Regions from separate parts of the Homo sapiens genome. Here region 1 is linked to region 2. The links are contacts of gene promoters, found by promoter capture Hi-C in blood cells and fetal thymus (Javierre and others, 2016). All regions are on one chromosome and are shown on one strand. The core of a region is centred on a gene start or on the middle of the fragment in contact, and the rest is flanking DNA. Distances in the headings are between cores, read along the strand shown.

Region 1 (3,167 bases), core at 194-2,693, 88 kb before region 2:
TGGAAGCCACCCCCACAGCCTGGGGAGTAGGCAGCCTGTGATGGGGGCAGAGCCAGAGCGGGGCAGACCCCTCATGGCCGGCTCTGAAGTTTCCAGACCCCTCTTTCACTTCCGAGCTCAGTGGGAGCTGCTTCCTCACCCAGAGCAGCCAATTCCACCGCTTTGAATCCAGTTAATTCCAGATTTCCTGGGGACTCCTGCCCATTTCCCTGAGGAATGTGAGGGGACCAGCCTGTCCCCAGCTGTGGCTCCTTCTCCCTAATCCAGCACCCCCACCCTCACTTCCCTCCCACCTGACCCCACCCGCCTCTCATCTTCTCTGCCCATCCCCCTCTGGGCCTTCTCTCCCCTCCTGGGGTCTCCTCTCTCACCACCCCCGGCCCCCATCTTTTGCCCAGCCCTCTATAGGGCTCCTAGGGCTGGGAGCCCACAAGCCTGATGGAGGTGTGGGGAGTGCTGAGGCCCTGCTCTGTTTTGGGGTCTGTGGGGGCGCCCAGCCCATAGCCTGTCCCGCACTCTGGGCCTTCTCCTCTTGCTGCCGTTTGGCGCACTTCTCTCTTTCCTGGGGGTGTTCAAAACCAGAATAGAAGAACCAGCGTCATGCAATAGGGTTGAGGGTGTGGGGGACTCGAGAACCTTTTTGGGGTTCCTGAATCCGAGGGGTATAACTGCATTACCCAGAAAGGCAGGGGTCCCTGCACCCCCACCCCACCCCAGCTCTCAAGTTCCCTCTTGAGCTTCCCCATTCTGGCCTCCAGAGTCCAGCGCAGAACAGCTGGGAGCCAGCCCACCCTGAGCCAGACACCATCAGCTGGGCGGAGGCCAGGCTTCCCCACTCCCCAGCTCCTCGGGCCACTGAACCTGAGCCCCCATGTCCCCTCTATCAGAAGGCCACACCAGAAGCCCCCACATCAGACTGTGGCGAGGACCGGCCCTCCGTCCAAGCTCCCACCATGTGCTCACAGCACAGCCATGCACGCTGCAGGCAGGAGACCGGCTGTGAGCAGTAAGCCCCGAAATTCACGGCCTGAGCCAGGCTGTCTCAATCATGGGCTGCCGAGACCTATTGAGGGGGCCGGGTTTTCTGCAGGATGTGACAGGCTGGCTGAGTTTGCCCGGACCGAGGGGACTCCCAGGACACGGGACTTGCAGTAGTAGAACCAGGAATGTTCCCGGGCAAGCTGGACAAGTTGGTCACCCCGGGTTTTGGCTGCAGGCACACAGATAGGAGCAGAAAGGGCCACCAGGCGGAGTGGGTGGTTTTTTTTTGGGGGATTTCTCCTAACTACGTGGCGACCTTGGGCAGGTCATTTAACCTCTCCAGGCTTCAGATTCTTACCTGTAAATGGGAATCTTGATGGGGTCCGCCTTGCAGGAGGGCTGGGGACCCAGGAGTGGGGGTGTGGAAACTGCTCAGCTCTGCTGTTTCTGCTCGTGCTCTGGTTACCCACGGCTTTGCCTGTTTTTGTCCACAGTTTGCTTTCTGTCCCACCCTGTCCTCTTCTTCCCTACCCATCCGCAGAGATGTGCTGAGAAAATCCTAAGTACAAGTGGGCTGGTTCTTAACTCCTCAAGGCCCAGCTCCTAGCTGTTCTATTTCCTCTGAGCCCCCAGGATGCCTGTAAGGTACATCAGAGAGGCTGTGCCATCAGCCTGAAGCCACCCGGCAGGTGTACCAGCACTGGGCCTCGGCCCTTCTCTGCCTCTTTGCTCCCATCCTGGCTGGTGCTCTGGCCTCCCTCGCTCACCCATCCTTTTGCCTTGCAGAGAAAATCTACATCATGAAGGCTGACACCGTGATCGTGGGGACCGTGAAGGCTGAGCTGCCGGAGGGCCGGGGCCTGGCGGGGCCAGCAGAGCCCGAGTTGGAGGAGGAGCTGGAGGCGGACCATACCCCCCACTACCCCGAGCAGGAGACAGAACCGCCTCTGGGCAGCTGCAGCGATGTCATGCTCTCAGTGGAAGAGGAAGGGAAAGAAGACCCCTTGCCCACAGCTGCCTCTGGAAAGTGAGGCCTGGGCTGGGCTGGGGCTAGGAGGGCAGCAGGGTGGCCTCTGGGAGGCCAGGATGGCACTGTTGGCACCGAGGTTGGGGGCAGAGGCCCATCTGGCCTGAACTGAGGCTCCAGCATCTAGTGGTGGACCGGCCGGTCACTGCAGGGGTCTGGTGGTCTCTGCTTGCATCCCCAACTTAGCTGTCCCCTGACCCAGAGCCTAGGGGATCCGGGGCTTGTACAGAAGAGACAGTCCAAGGGGACTGGATCCCAGCAGTGATGTTGGTTGAGGCAGCAAACAGATGGCAGGATGGGCACTGCCGAGAACAGCATTGGTCCCAGAGCCCTGGGCATCAGACCTTAACCACCAGGCCCACAGCCCAGCGAGGGAGAGGTCGTGAGGCCAGCTCCCGGGGCCCCTGTAACCCTACTCTCCTCTCTCCCTGGACCTCAGAGGTGACACCCATTGGGCCCTTCCGGCATGCCCCCAGTTACTGTAAATGTGGCCCCCAGTGGGCATGGAGCCAGTGCCTGTGGTTGTTTCTCCAGAGTCAAAAGGGAAGTCGAGGGATGGGGCGTCGTCAGCTGGCACTGTCTCTGCTGCAGCGGCCACACTGTACTCTGCACTGGTGTGAGGGCCCCTGCCTGGACTGTGGGACCCTCCTGGTGCTGCCCACCTTCCCTGTCCTGTAGCCCCCTCGGTGGGCCCAGGGCCTAGGGCCCAGGATCAAGTCACTCATCTCAGAATGTCCCCACCAATCCCCGCCACAGCAGGCGCCTCGGGTCCCAGATGTCTGCAGCCCTCAGCAGCTGCAGACCGCCCCTCACCAACCCAGAGAACCTGCTTTACTTTGCCCAGGGACTTCCTCCCCATGTGAACATGGGGAACTTCGGGCCCTGCCTGGAGTCCTTGACCGCTCTCTGTGGGCCCCACCCACTCTGTCCTGGGAAATGAAGAAGCATCTTCCTTAGGTCTGCCCTGCTTGCAAATCCACTAGCACCGACCCCACCACCTGGTTCCGGCTCTGCACGCTTTGGGGTGTGGATGTCGAGAGGCACCACGGCCTCACCCAGGCATCTGCTTTACTCTGGACCATAGGAAACAAGACCGTTTGGAGGTTTCATCAGGATTTTGGGTTTTTCACATTTCACGCTAAGGAGTAGTGGCCCTGAC
Region 2 (2,963 bases), core at 129-2,628:
AGGTGTTGAAGAAACACTGTGAAAGGGATAAAATCTCTGTTTTCAAGGTACTGGGGAAAGAACAACATATGTATAAACAAACAAGATAATCTCAGGGAGTATTAGGTTCCATGAATAAAATACAACAGGGTAATGGATAATGGAACTTTATTTTTATTTTCATTTTTGAGAGGGAGTCTCACTCTGTCTGGAGTGCAGAGGGGTGATCTCGGCTGACTGCAACCTCCGCCTCCCGGGTTCAAGTGATTCTCCTGCCTCAGCTTCCCCAGTAGCTGGGACTACAGGTGTGCACTACCACGCCCGGCTAATTTTTGTAGTTTTAGTAGAGATGGGGTTTCACTATGTTGGCCAGGCTGGTCTCAAACTCCTGACTTCAGTGATCCGCCCGCCTCAGCCTCCTGAAGTGCTGGGATTACAGGCATGAGCCACTGTGCCCAGCTCATAATGGAACCGTAGATAGGCACAAGTCCTCTCTGAGTGGAATATTTGAAGCCAGAGGGAGTCAGCTATACGAATATCCAGAGCTATTCTGTAGCTCTGGATTGGCCACAAGAGGGTATTGAGCACTGGAATTCTGGCTAGTTTGTACTGAGATGCGCAGTAAATGTAAAATATACCCGAATTTCAAAAACTTACTATAAAAAAGTTAACATATTGTATTAGTAATTTTTTCTTTTGGCGACATGTTGAGATGATCATATTTTGAACATATTGGATTAAATATATTAAAATGAAGTTCATTTTCTTCTTTTTCGTTTAAAAAAAATGTACTAGCTAGTAAATGTGGATTGCCTATGTGGCTGGCATTGTGTTTCTATTGGTCTGAGGAGAAGGGTCCTAGGTAGAGACAACGGCAAAGGTACAGTTCCTGGGGCAGAAACTGAAGGATGCTGAGGCAGAGTCGGCCGGGGAAAAAGTGGCTGAAATGGGAAGGGACCAGATCCAGTGGGACCTTGGTGGCAGCTCTGTAAGGAGGTGGGTTTTAACTGAAGTACGGTGGGGACGCCGTTTTAAGCAGGGAAGGGCAGGGTCTGAATTAACAGGCCCCTGTGGCTGCGAAGTGGGGAACGGACTGTGGGTGAGTGGGCCAGACGGACGGCCAATCGCACCTTTCGCTTGGATGGAAGGCAGGGTGGTTGTAGGTGGGAAGAATCCTGGGTTCCCATGCTGTCTGAACCAGAGTCATTTGTGGCCCTGCCCTCCCCTGGGACTCAATTTCCCCACCTATAAAATAAGCCCCAGTGTCCGCGAACCCTGGAGGGGCCCGCACCACTGCAGGAGCGGCCGCCGGCGCCAGGGGGCGCCTCCTCGATAACTCGGCGCTCGGCTGGCCAGGCACCGGCGCGTCGGCCGCTCGATTGGTCGGGTCGGGGCCGGCCTGAGCGCCGCGGGCCTGCGCCATTGAGGAGCGGCGGGGAGGAAACGCCGCGCAGCGCCGGGCTGGGGCGGGCGGCCCGGGACACCGACAGGTAGGGGCCGAGCGGCTCCGTGCCGGGCGGGGCCAGGGTCGGGAACTGCAGGGCCGGCGCGGACCCGCGGGCCGCCGCTAGGGCTCCGCCTGGACATGGGGGCCCGGGCCCACCCTGGGGAGAGCGATGCTAGGAGCCTGGGGGCCCCGTCGTCCGGCCTCGGTCTGAGCCCCTCGGGGTAACCCTGGGCGTCTGCTCCCCCCGGGCCCCAAGCCCGCCACCTCCGGGGACCCCTGCGTCCGAGTCCCCGCGAGCTCCCCAAGCACAGGCTCGGGGCTGGCTGAACCTCTGGGAACCCCGACGTCCGTGTCCTGGGGAGCCCGAGCCCCCGCTGGACCCCGGCACACTTTCCGGGGTCCCAGCAGCCTGGCGCCCTGGAATTGGGGGGTGTCAGTCCGCGCCTGTCCGCCTGAGCCTTGGTCTCAATGCAGGACCCCAGTGTGCGAGCCCCCCACATTACGCCGAAGAGTGGGGTGTCAGTTCTCTAGAATGCCTTAGCCACCTCCCTTAATCAGCCACCCGAGGTCACACTCTCGCGTGGAGACATCAGGCCTAAAACCTCTCTTTACCTTTTGCCCCCCAGGGTCACGCCCTGGCCCAGCCACTCCTCCTAGGTGTGGGATGCCAGACATCAGGCCTAAAACCTCTCTTTACCTTTTACCCCCCAGGGTCACGCCCTGGCCCAGCCACTCCTCCTAGGTATGGGATCCCGGCGCCGTTCCCTCCAGGTTTTACTTGGGTGGTGGGGTCTCTGTCCCCTGGAGGGGGCTGAGGGTTCCGAGAGCTGGGGGCGGGAGGGTTGTGGGAGCGTCGCCTTCCGGGCAGTGCCGTTCCTGTGGGGCCACCGGTCGCACAGCCGTCCCCGCCCCGGTTTTGGAGCTCCCTGGCGCCGGCAGCGTTCAGCCCTGGCCGCCTCGGGGAGGGACGCCCAGGTCCGGTTGCCAGTCCTTCCTATTCCCGGTCTGGCCGCTCCTCAGGGGAGGGGCCTGGCTCAAGGTCATGCCCGGCTGTCTGCCCGCCCGTGGGCTCAGCACTGATCCCTACTGTCACCCGCCCCACTGGGTAGGGGAGCCCAGGTGGGGGTTAGTGCCAGTGCCAGGCAGCTGCCTAGAAGTCCTGATGGACCGGAGTGTAAACACTTTGGGACTCTGGCCAGTCTGGCGGCCCTTGCTGACACTGAATTCCTTCAGGGAATCCTTGAAGTGGCCTCAAGCACGGTCTAGATGCTTAGCAGAGCAAATAATGGGTGCTTTCTGGTTTGGGCCTCAATGTTACTGACCAGGTTGCCTCACAATGCTAATCACTCATGCTTTTAAAATCTGTGCTTTGCATTCTTTTCCGTTTAGGGCAAGTAGGGTAGGGCCTGAACTTGTTTACAAACTGACAGTTGTTTCCCTTGATTTGGAGATAATTGGTAATTGGCACTCAGAGTTGGCATTTAGGGCCGAAATTAGTGGCAATAACTACAAAAATAAAGAGTACTCTGACCTTGGC

The links. The method cuts DNA at HindIII sites, captures the fragments that hold promoters and counts their contacts. A CHiCAGO score of 5 or more calls a contact.
Region 1: a fragment that was not itself captured here is called in contact with the fragment with the promoter of VPS13D in region 2 in 2 of 17 cell types (neutrophils and M1 macrophages); the score reaches 5.7 in neutrophils.

Annotation. Positions count from the first base shown.
Region 1 is chr1:12,140,520-12,143,686 of GRCh38, forward strand. It overlaps TNFRSF8 (TNF receptor superfamily member 8), which reads left to right. Exons shown (of 15, transcript NM_001243.5): 15 at 1,768-3,167. The coding sequence ends at 2,012. Among named protein-coding and RNA genes, the nearest start is that of MIR7846, 25 kb to the right of the region's middle. The HindIII fragment of the contact is 4,003 bases long and covers 1-3,167 here.
Region 2 is chr1:12,228,652-12,231,614 of GRCh38, forward strand. It overlaps VPS13D (vacuolar protein sorting 13 homolog D), which reads left to right and starts at 1,379. Exons shown (of 70, transcript NM_015378.4): 1 at 1,379-1,469. RefSeq lists an enhancer at 1,128-2,058 and silencers at 1,204-1,733, 1,270-1,438. The HindIII fragment of the contact is 6,412 bases long and covers 1-2,963 here.